3 separate regions of the Homo sapiens genome follow, and regions 2 and 3 are each linked to region 1. Evidence: promoter capture Hi-C in human tissues and cell types (Jung and others, 2019). All regions are on one chromosome and are shown on one strand. The core of a region is centred on a gene start or on the middle of the fragment in contact, and the rest is flanking DNA. Distances in the headings are between cores, read along the strand shown.

Region 1 (3,951 bases), core at 447-2,946:
CCTGGTGAACTCACCGTTGCGTACAATCTTCCTTTACTGTTCATGGCAACGAAGAGGGCACTTCTCACTCCAAAGAGACTCACCACGCCTCGCTCCACAGTGGAAATTTCCAGCAGGCCTGACAAGGAAAGGGGGGCCACATTACCTAAGGCTTGTGCAAATCAGAGTGGGAACTTGAGCCGACAAGGGCATCTCAGTCCATCCCCCTTCTCCTAGAAAGCCAGACTCTCCATTGCCCCATCCATGATCCCTCTAACTCTAGGAGACCCTGGCTGCTGGACTCATCGAGTGCTGCCATTGTGCTGTTAGAAATCCAGTTCTGCAAGGGAAGGTTCTGATAGCAGAGTTAGGGGCTGCAGTGACCACTTAGCTATCTGTTTAAGATGAGCTTTGAATCTGGGCTTTCAGTGACATAATTACTTGAGGTCCTTGACTTGAGTAAAAAAATAAATTCTGATTCTTCTTCTTCTTCTTAATGTGTACTCTACATGTTTCAACAAATCTCAACCCACTTAATCTTGAAAACACAGCAGCCACACCATAGCTGATGGCTTTCTTGGATCCTGCAGCCCCCATCCTTTCTTGGATAGGAGACTAACCATACAGCAAGCTGGCAGCTTGCAGGCAGCTTGCAGGATAAGAACCTGGGGACAGAGGGAGCCGCTGAAATAAAAAGAAGGATGTGCTTCAGTTGGACATTTTGCAATTGAATTTCCCTTCCTTCTCCAAGAAAGAAGCTGAATAAAAATGAGCTTGTGTCAAATTTGATCCAAGTATACTAACTGATTCTCCCTACCCAGGCCTTGGGGGCTTCCCAGACTAATGGTTCCTAATGGTCTTACAAGGCATCAGATGGGCCAGTAATGCTGAAATAGTTAGTGCCACTGAGGATCTAACCAAGGCGATGGCAAAGAACACCAGGATGCTTGGACCGCAGTATATTGAGCTTGCACCCAGGCAGGGTCACGTGGAATCATCTAAGTGGTGAGCAGCATTTCTGCCCCCTTTATCGTGCATCCTGTCCGCTAGAGCAGGGCCCCTTCACCTTTTAGCCCTGCATGAGCCCAAACCCCCAAGCGTCCCGACTGGCTGCAGCTGGCACTCACTGTAGGGGTTCTCCTCGTGGGTCCCGCTGATCCGGCCGTCGGGGAGCACCTGGAGGTGAAAGCCGATGCCCACGTTGCAGTAGAGCCTCCGCTGCCGCTTGATCCCCACCAAATAGCCACTTTCCCAGTTCACCCCGGCAATCTCTCCAGCTAGCCCGGCGCGAGACCTGGACAGCAGGGTGCCCCAGCCCCTCGAGTCCAGCAGCGTGTTGTTGGCACGGGTGCCTGCAGGCGAGGGCACCACCATGCCCACTAGGATGCCTAGGAAGACGAGAGCCCACAGCGTGCCCTGCAGACGTCCTGCTCCCCGGGACATAGTGATGAACAGTTTCTGTCCCAGGGCCATCCACCTTGCCTCTCAGGCACGTGGTCAGAATTAATGGCCCTAAAAATACCGCCCTTCTTGTTTTTCTCCCTCCGGCATGGCGGCAGGGGCTTATTTTTGGAAGGCAGATGAAGGCTGCTGACATGAAACCAAAGCCTCCATCGGGCACTCGGGTTGAGAGCAGAGGGACCCAGGCTGAGCCGCGGCCGGTAGAGACCATGGCTCGGGGACGCTCTCTAGCTCGCCCGCTTGCTCCGTCCCTAGTTGATGATATTTGATTTGACCTATCTTTATAGTTGCTTCAGCAGCCCGGCCCTCCCCTCCACCCATCATCGCCCTGACGTCAACCCGCCCAGCTCACTTATCCAGGGCTGTAACATTAACCTGCTCTTGGGCCTGGCTGCCTCCCCAGACCCCCATCACCCTCCACACTCCCCAGGGGTTCTGGGAGCCACTGTCATTCCAACTATGAGGCAGGAATGAAGTGAGCAGGGAGCATCTCTGGGGGAGGGGGGAGCTGGCTGGGGGCCCAGGGAAAGAGAGAGGCGAGAGGCCACCCAGGACCCATATTGGGCAGAAGTTCTTTGCCTGGCAGCGCTGGCTTCCTTATTTAGAGGGCAATAGGTAGAGGCAGGGATGGGAAAAGGCTTGTGGTAGTGATGACCGTAGCCTCAAGTCACCCTTGAGATCTTTTCATGGAAACAGCTCATGGTGGAGGGGAACACTGAAAGGCCAAACCCTTTCAGCAGGAGGGCACAGACATTCTCAGGGGGTGGGGATGGGGGTTGTTCAAGGAGCTTTAAGATTGTGGAGGGAAGGAGGGCAAGGGCAAGGTTTGCCTGCTCACTGTCCTGGTCCCGACATTCACCTGGGGTGGAAGTTGTGTCTGGCCTTTGACACAGCCCCCTGGCCATTCTCCCTGGATTTATCCCTGGCATGTGACTGATATTATTCCCATTTCACAGATGAGGAAGTTGAGGCTTAGAGAGGATAAATGACCTGCCCGAGTTACCATAGCTAATAAGTAGCAAAGCCAGAACTTCTAAGGTGTGCCTGAGTCTAAAGCCTGTGCATGTCTAATGCTTGCAGTAGAAGTTGGCTGGCCCATAGAGTCTGTTTAGCTCCTTAAATGCCAATAGCACATCACAGAGTTATTTCAGTAGCATAAAATGATTTATTTCTTAAAAAAAACTTGAGTGTCTTTGATGTACATGAGAACTTCTATATTTGCAGATAACTTTTGCTGGGCTGATATTACACTCAGAAACTAGTAAAAATATTTCTGCCAGGAAGTTATTCCTACACTGATTTATCTTATTCCCATATTACTTTTAAATAGATTACATGTCTAACTGAAGTGAGAAAAAAAATGTAAAGCTACCAGAAAACTCACTGCACAAATTTCTATACAATATAAGACAGAACTATTAATACGTCTCTGAGGGTGAATAAGTTAACAAGGGTCGCTGGGGAATTGAATTAACTTGAGTTAAAAATCCTGTTTCTTGTACTTCAATCCAGGCCTTAATCTGTTGGTGAGACATTAGCACTGATTTTGCCGGGATTGGAGAGAGTATGTGTGGGGTGATGACAGTGGCATACAGATGGATTTGAGTGTCCTGAGCAGTAGAGCTGGTCCCAGCAGGCAGCTCCCTTAGCCACACTCTACACCCACATTGCAGGCTGCAGGCAGCCTGGAAAAGCTCCTGGGGTGAGTTCCATGGCCCAAGGACTCTACTGAGGCACCACCGCCTTCCCTCTGATTCTAAACCTTCTGCTGTGCCCTGGGTCCCAGCCTCTGGTCTGTGGCTTCTACCTGCCTTCTCTCTGCCCTTCTGCCTCGTTCACTGGGTTCGATGCTTTGGTTCAAATTTCTGTCAAGCCATGTGTTTAGTGTTGCCCTAGACATGCCTTCTGAAATCCTGTGAAGCCCAGATGTCTGTCTTTACCCTCAGCTGGTAAACTGAATGGGGAGGGACATAGGCACCACTTGTTCCTACTGTCACCACGGCCCCCTGACTTCCCCATTGGCTTCCTCTCCCTTCCACTGCCGTTGTCCCATACCCAATCTCATCATCACCAGCACTGCCATTTCCCATGAGGAAAGATGATGCCTTATAGGCTCAGATTGAGTCTACTATGTAGGCCTTTGTTGGAAAACTGTTTTTAAAAATCCTTCTGCAAAGTAAAAGGTTCATGAATAATCCGAAGACAAAGTTGTCAACAAAAAGAACTTCACTTTGGATTTCCAGCTGGGTTTCATATAGTTAAGCTTTCATGGATGCAAGAGCAGTGGGGACACTTTCTCAGTGATGTTGTTTGGAATCTTGTGTTAATTATGCTGGTGGTCCTCACTTAGGGAAGAGACAGTCCAGAAACATGTTGGATGGTAAGGAGAAGTCAGTCTGAAGTTAACACTTGCCTTGGATAATCGGAGAGGTGCTCACCAGCAGAGCTCAGAATCTCTGTGGAATTTCTTGGAACCCATCCACTTTGGGACTGCCTTAGGAGAGAGATTAA
Region 2 (3,951 bases), core at 385-2,884, 88 kb after region 1:
TCAGGCTGGCAGGACCAGGGGAAAGCAAAAAGAGAAAGCAGATAAGCTATAAGTCTGCCTTTCCTCATGGTCCAGACCAAGCTTGTCCAACCTGTGGCACAGGATGGCTTTGAATGCCGCCCAACACAAATTCATAAATTGTGAATTTTTTTTTTTTTTTTTTTTTAGCTCATCAGCTATCCCTCATGTTAATGTATTTTATGTGTGGCCGAAGACAATTCTTCTTCCAGTGTGGCCCAGGGAAGCCAAAAGATTGGACACCCCTGGTCCAGGCCACGTAGCCCTCCTGCACTCACCTTTCACCAGACACCTGCAAGATAGCTGCAAGACTGCAGCTCACTGCAGTCTTGGGGTTATCAGTACTGCACACAGCACTGTACAGCATACAGCATAAACGCTGTCCTATAAAATCTCCAGCAAGCCTTTGTTTCCTTGAAGTCAGCTTCTCTTCTGTTGGCCTGCCCATTGCCTCCTCGCAACATATTTTCCTACTTTCTCTAATAAACCTACCTTTCTTTATCTACAACTGTCTTGGTAAATTCTTTTACCCCTGTACCACCAGCCCAGATAGTCATCGTTTACCTGCAACATTTACTAGTTCTCCACACCACCTCAGCCATCCATTTAGTATCCTCACCAGAAACTCAGTCCGTCAGTATTCAAACATTCTAGTCTCTGACTACAACCTCCACCCAAGATTTCTCGCTCAATAATCCCCAGGTAATTGATATTTAACCTCATCAGGACCTCCACTTCATAAGTTTCTCAATGTTTTCATTTTTTTTTAAATCAGCCATCAACTGCCACTTAGCTTCACTTCTTTCCCTATGTAGCTTACATTTTGTGATCTAGCATTCAACCACTGTCTTGCCGATATCCTCAACTCCCTTGACTGATGTACCTTATATTACCCACCTAACAAAACCCTCATCTTATTCCTCTTCTCTATGCCTGCAGTCGGGCTTTAGAGAGCTGTAGCAGAAAAATCACAAAACTCTATAAAGTTTATGGTGACAAACTGGTGCCACTCTTAATCTTGGCCTCAATGATGCCTGGCAATCCTATCATTCGCTGCTCGGTTTTCTCCTTAAATATCCAACAATCTTTTTATACCTACTGCCTCATCTAAACAAATAACCTGTCTTTCCTTAAAGTTGAAACACTCAGAAGAGAATATTCTCAACTTCCTGCTACCAAATTAATAAAATTATCTGAATTTATATCCAACCTTTCCTGCTTCTCTTTGGCTGTAAGTGGAGAAGCATCTGTCTTCCCAGTTATGATTAATTCTCCATTTGAGTTCTGGATTCTATCCCTTCTAGTCCTAAACTTTGCCGCCTTAAAAAACAAACAAACAAACCTCTGACCTTGTGTTCCCATTTAGCCAGTGCCCCATCCTTCACCTCTTTATATTCGAACTTCTTCAGTTAGTATACTAATTCTTCCTATTTCCACACTCCCACATGCTTAGAGTCAGTGAAATCTCATTTCCACCACCACCAACTTACCGAAACTGATCTTGCCACAGACAAGATTACTTGATAAATACAATGGATATTTTTGAGTCTTTTCTTTGCCTCTTATACTTGATGTCATCTTGGCATTCTCTCATAGTTTAATTTGCAGTGCTCTTTCTTAGTAAATAAAATCATTTGTGATATACCTAATGGCATCTTAGACTTTATGAAACAGGGTATATTATTTAAATAGAAAATGATATGATGTGACTACACAACAATAATGAAGATAAGTTTATAAAAGTAAACCAAAGGTTACATGAATGCTGTTGCTGATTTAGGGTTGCCAGATAAAACACAGAACACTCACTTAAATTAGAATTTCAGATAAATAGTGAACAATTTTTTTTAGTATAAATATGTTCCATGTAATATGTTGATATACTAAAAAATATTCATTTATCTGAAATTCTAACTTAACTGGGTGTCCTATATTTTTAATTACTAAATCTGGAGACCCTGTGCTGGTGAGATATATGCAAGTAGCCTCTTGTTTTACAAAGGTATTACATAAATAGCATTTTGTCTTATGTGCTCACCCTGATATAGGAAGCACAGAAGCAGCAACATATACATTATAGAATATTGTATGTGGAGAAAAAGGATCTTATAACGATTTCAGGATTACCACAGCATTTTAAAAATTTTCACCAAAATCCAGAATATCCTTGAAATTTACAATCTGACCTATTTTCTTACCTCAGCATAAGCTTTGGCCCATGTACTCGCCAGCTGATGTAAATCTACTTCACCTGATTTCACAGCTGCCAGGGATGCTTCAGCATCTCTATCATAATCGCTGAGGGATTCTTCTTCTATAAACTGAGTCAGAGCTTCTTTTAAGTCTGTTACAGGGACATCAAACACCATCGTCAGCAAAATCCAGGTATAAATAGGGAACATTTTACTTGGCTGAGAATTCCAATGTGAAATCTTATTGTTAAATTTTTATTTTTTATTTAGAGATGGGGTCTCTCTCTCTGTTACACAGGCTGGAGTGCAGTGGCATGATCACAGTTCACTGCAGCCCTGAATTCCCGGACTCCAGTGATCCTCCCACCTCAGCCTCCCGAGTAGCTGGGACCACAGGTGCATGCCACCATGCATGGCTAATTTTTGTATTTTTGGTAAAGATAGGTCTCACCATGTTGCCCAGGCTGGTCTTGAACTCGTCAGCTCAAGTGATTCACCTGCCTTAGCCTCCCAAAGTGCTGGGATTACAGGTGTGAGCCACCTTGCCCAGACATGAAATTTTATTTTATCAAGCTGATACTCTTAATAGAATCTCCAACTAAAATGAAATCAGCTTAGGGGATCATTTAACTAATTTCATGATTATTTTCCTTTACTATTACAGGCTATTGCATAGAGAAAGGTCAAAAGTCTTAACTCTTACGTATTCCCTTGATACTAATAAAGTAATGTTACTTTCTTAAGCCTGATATTTCAGTTTGAAGCCAAGTGGGTATAAGGACATAAAGAAAATGCTACAGATTTTGAAGGTCTGAACATTACTGTATTTACATTAAAAAGAGTTTTCCATGTAACTTTAAAGGGTACATTGTTACATCCTTTGAAAGAGAAGTTAAATGACTAGCTTATTAACACATTTAACTTAGATGACTGACCGATTTCAGTTTTACAGACACCACTTAGAGAATGATATAACGGAAGAGCACTGAGAGAGAAGTTAGGACACCTGTGTTCTGGCTTTGGCTCTATTATTATCACTATGTTCGCGACTTTAGACTGTGGTTCACAATCTTAAGTGTGCATTAGAAACCCCTGGAGGCCTTATTTAAACAGACTGCCACATGCTACCCTAGTTTCTGATTCAGCAGAAATGGGATGCAGCCCGAGAATTTGCATGTCTAACAAGCTTGCAGGTGATGCTGTTGCTGCTAAATGATTAGAAACCATATTTCAAGAACCACTGCCTAGGGTAAATAATTTAACCTCTTTATGTTCCAGTTTCCTTGTTTGTACAATGTGATTGGGCTATAAAGTTTCTAGGTTCTCTTATAACTCTAACCTGTGATCTAACATATTCTGAATTTTAAATTTTTCCTAGACTGTGAGATAGAGCACAGACCTTTAAAAATGGTTTAATACATCTAACTTTATAAAACTAATTTAGGTAAGCAAAGACTATTCAAAAATTAGTACACTTTCTGTTCTATGGCATCTCAGAAATTAATGACCAGATTATTAAAAGGGCAACCAATTTAGCACTATAATTCTATTAGCACAATTAGCGATAGCTAAACTGCCTTATAACTTCACCCAACTAAATTCAGAAGAGCTCCTCTAATTCCAAACTTTGTAGCTAATTTTTCATTATAAAATCTAATTTTTATATTTTATAAACAACTACCACTTATAGGAAAAAACACTCAATAAAAGAAAGCTCTGGAGAAATGTTTTTATTCTTGGA
Region 3 (3,951 bases), core at 606-3,105, 76 kb before region 1:
GTCTGAGGTGGGTGGATCACGAGGTCAGGAGTTCGAGACCAGCCTGGCCAAGATGGTGAAACCCTGTCTCTACTAAAATTACAAAAATTAGCCAGGCGCAGTGGCAGGTGCCTGTAATCCCAGCTACTTGGAAGGCTGAGGCAGGAGAATCGCTTGAACCTGGGAGGCAGAGGTTGCAGTGAGCCGAGATCGCGCCACTGCACTCCAGCCTGGGTGACAGAGCAAGACTCCATCTTAAAAAAAAAAAAAAGAAAGAAAGAAAGAAAGAAAACACTTTAGGGTTAGAATGACCAGAAATCCAATATTGATAAAACTTAAATAATTCTGTCTAGATCAATTAAAATCATTGAGTCTCCTTATGAATGGAAGAAATCTTTGAAAATTTTAAAATTCTAAAATCTTTTTTTCAATTTTGCCTTCTCTGGATTTCCCTAATGTTCCCCTCCCATAATCCTTTTTATTCTTATATTCCGACATGCTTTTAAGTAGTACTACAAAGAGGATAAGCTAACAGAAGCTGAGATAAATTTTATTTTTATTTTAAACAGAAGAAAGGAAAAAGGGGTTACATTTTTATAAATATCTATAAATATAGAAGGATAGGCAAACTTCCAAATAAATAAATAAATACTGCCACATGACGAGGGATATAAGAAATTGTAGGAGCTATTTTGGCTTTGCCATAAAGAAAACCCCTGATGGTAGTGTTGAGTTTGTGAGATTACAACTAGTTTTCCACCAAAATCCTTTTGGGATCTTTCACTGAGGAGCCTCCAATAGCTATTATGCAGGATAATATTTCCAACAGGAAATGAAAACAGAAATATTAAAATATTTGCCATGCATGGCTATATACTATTATACATAGTTTTACTGTTTCAGAATAGGAACCAGTCCTTCAAGTTCAGCTTAAAACCATCAGGTAAAAACAGTTGCCCAACATTTCTCTCATAACCAAAAAGAATAGATCAAAGTATAAGGTTAGTATGTGATGGCAGTGAGAAAAAAAAAAGTGACTGGGAAGAAGCTGTTGTTGAATCGACTTTGCTTGTTAATATACTGTCCTTTAGGTGGTCATTTAAAGAGAGGGAGGAAAATGGAGCCCCCTTACAGGAAGAACCGCAGTAATGGGGTAAGGCTTCATTTAATGCACCAAGAATTTCCAAGGGGATTGAGACCCAGATGTGTCAGCCTAGGAGAGTTTTAACTAATCGAAGAGCCACTGCTGCTGCAGAGCCCTAGAGACCACAGACAAGAGCCTGACCATGTGGTTGTCTTTTCATAACTTCTATAACATGTCCCCTGATTTCTTTCCCCCTGAGTCCTTGATGCCACTTCATTTAGAGAAAAGGACACGATTTTTCAGTCCACAGAAAACCTAACCCAGAGCAGTCCCAGTCTCTCAAAGCCCCCTTCCCAGTCACATTTTTGTAGTTTGTTCAGAATGGATTCCTACTCAACCTGGAAGTAGAGCCTTAATTAAATGCCTCTTAGGAGAGTTGGAATTTATTTCCATTTTGAAAAGCAAATTCTAGCAGGGCAGATTTTCGTGAGCCAGTGTAAAAGCTATTTATTCCTTAGACCAAATTTTCAAAAACCAGAGATGGGGCCAAAAGGTGAGGCTGTATCATGAACTGCTTGGGAACAGAGTGGGGCCATTCTGGGCCCTCTGGCTGTGGCTGCACAGAGGGAGACAGCGAGACAGAAGGTGCTCACCCTGTAGGGAGGCTGAGTTTTCTATTATGATTCCTGCCTCATTTCAGCAAGCATCAAGTCTAGCTGTCAAGTTTTCACCAGCCTACCACCAGTCTTTTGACAGCTCTTCCCCAGAGATGCTCAAGGAAGAACGAAGGCTTGAAAGTAGTGTTTTCATCAACTTGCCCCATTCAGCTGTTAATGTCAAGGTTTGCACACTCAAATGCCAGTGGGATCGGGGCATCTAACATAAATGCATAGGGCAGTGGAGAAGCTTCTGGGATCTCCGATTTCCTCTTCCCTACACCTTCAAAGTCTTGAGCTCAGGAACCCACTGCTTTTTTTTTTTTTTTTTTTTTTTTTTTTTTTTATGCTTAAAAGTGATAAAGAGGAGAGGCACAAGGAAGAGAAATATGTTGGGAGAGACCCCTTCTCTCTACCTTCATGAAGGGGAAATTTCTAGTTTACCTGTTGGGGTTTCCTATTGGGAAAGGTGTTCTATATGGAGTGAGGAAGGCGGTGAAACCCCATGACTTGGGCCTCAAAGGTTGGTTCTCACAGGACCTCCTGTGGAAGGGACCCCAGAGAAGCAGCAAATTCCATACATGCCCCTGTCACCTTTCCCATCCTCGGAACGTCAAGGGACCTGGTCCTTGGGAAGAGCTGCGTTTGCTGAGGGATGGGTTAAAGAGGGTGCCCTTCCAGCGACCCTAGATGAACTTGGCGAAGGGGCGGCAGCCTTCCGGGCCCGTTCCCCCAGCGTGCGTGTTCACTCGACCGCCCCTGACCACCCCTAATGGGTCACTGGCCATCGGGCTGTTGTCCTCGGCGCTCGGGAGCTCCTGTGAACAGGAGGCCGGGGCCGGGGTCATCCGGGCCCGGGGCTTCAGCACGTTCAGGGGGTCCCGCTCCGAGTCGTCCTCGGCGCTCCGGGTGTGCCGCCGTGGTATGGGGGTGTTGAAGTGAATTAGGGGGATCTCGTTCCTCCGGGACAGGAACTGGGAGTACGGGGGTGGGTTCATGCCTGGCAGGAAGGCTCTCTTCGCCCGGCCCAGACTGACCAGGAAGTGATACTGAGGAGAGTGGTAGACGTCGTACCCGTTTTCCAGCGTCTGGTGTTGGAACCTGCAGTTCTCCGGGTCGAAATAGTGCTGGAAGGACAAGAGCGAACCACGTGAAGGCTGGCAGTGGGGGCCCCACCCACTCCCCAGCTCCTCCTGGGGCCACATGCTTGTGCCAGCCGGCCTGAAGCTCTGCAGTTCTTAGGGCGTTGAGCCTTCACCCCTTTGTTCCCTGCTGGGGTAGAGTGGTTTTGATTAATGCTCAAGCCCTGACTATATAGTTCGCCCTTTCAGAGACTACGACTACTGGGGCCTCCGCTTACTGCCTGGAGGCCCGGGCTGGCCTGGCCTGTGGTTTTCCTGGAGTAGGCACCACCTTGTCCTTCCTGCCCTCTATCTTTTCCAAGCCTCTGCTGGCTGAAAATTGGCTTGGGTTTGTCTCTTTACTGGAGAAAGGAGAGGGGATGGAGTTTATAGGGTCAAACATGAATGAGAGCACTGACGGGATTGGAGACATGAACTTTGCTGACAGATGAGCTGGGTTTGAATCCTCTACCACTAGTACTGGGTTTTACTGAGTGCCCCACGAAGGCCTTTGCCTGTTATTTCTTTTAATCCTCAAGCTCCACAAAGTAAGCAGTTTACAGATCAGGACTATCTACATGCCTAGAGGGGTTAACGGATGTTTAGTTAGTTATCTATATTTCAATAGTGGTTCAACAGATTTTTTGTTTGTTTGTTTACCTACTCTAGCCAGACACTATTGTAGGGGCTGGGATGCAGCAGAAAGCAAAACAGAAAGTCTCTGTTCTTGTGGAGTTTCTAGTGGGCATGTGTGGTGGTCAGAGACTCCTGAGATAAGCAGTCCTACTATTTTACTATCTCAAAATCCTCCAAAAGAGGCCAGCAGCCTTTAGTTTGGGAAATCCTTTGCTTACCAATCCGAATGAATAGCTATCACAATTGGGGCAGGGGTTATTAATTAAAAATCTTTAACTGGAGGGAGCTCCACAGGTCACGTGGTCTATTCCACTTCGCTTTTTCCAAGTGAAAATGCTGAAGTTTGGAGAAGTGAGGAGATTTACCCAAAGTCACAGCTAGTCCCAGAATCAAGAAGACACCAATGGCTTTTCACCCTTTCTAATGTACTTTACAACGTGAATTGACATGACTTGAGGACCTACGACTACATACC

Evidence for each region. The method cuts DNA at HindIII sites, captures the fragments that hold promoters and counts their contacts. A contact is called where the count stands out against the background at its distance.
Region 2: a contact is called between a fragment that was not itself captured here and the fragment with the promoter of FGF6 in region 1, in 2 of the 25 tissues and cell types used here (lymphoblastoid cells and mesendoderm cells).
Region 3: a contact is called between a fragment that was not itself captured here and the fragment with the promoter of FGF6 in region 1, in 2 of the 25 tissues and cell types used here (mesenchymal stem cells and mesendoderm cells).

The regions. Positions count from the first base shown.
Region 1 is chr12:4,444,119-4,448,069 of GRCh38, forward strand. FGF6 (fibroblast growth factor 6) reads right to left here and starts at 1,697. Exons shown (of 3, transcript NM_020996.3): 1 at 1,107-1,697; 2 at 15-118. The coding sequence starts at 1,452. The HindIII fragment of the contact is 16,147 bases long and covers 1-3,951 here.
Region 2 is chr12:4,531,941-4,535,891 of GRCh38, forward strand. It overlaps FERRY3 (FERRY endosomal RAB5 effector complex subunit 3), which reads right to left. Exons shown (of 14, transcript NM_020374.4): 3 at 2,217-2,362. Among named protein-coding and RNA genes, the nearest start is that of FERRY3, 4.6 kb to the right of the region's middle. RefSeq lists an enhancer at 3,430-3,489. The HindIII fragment of the contact is 5,337 bases long and covers 1-3,951 here.
Region 3 is chr12:4,367,938-4,371,888 of GRCh38, forward strand. FGF23 (fibroblast growth factor 23) reads right to left here. Exons shown (of 3, transcript NM_020638.3): 3 at 290-2,846. The coding sequence ends at 2,406. Among named protein-coding and RNA genes, the nearest start is that of FGF23, 9.8 kb to the right of the region's middle. The HindIII fragment of the contact is 4,544 bases long and covers 1-3,951 here.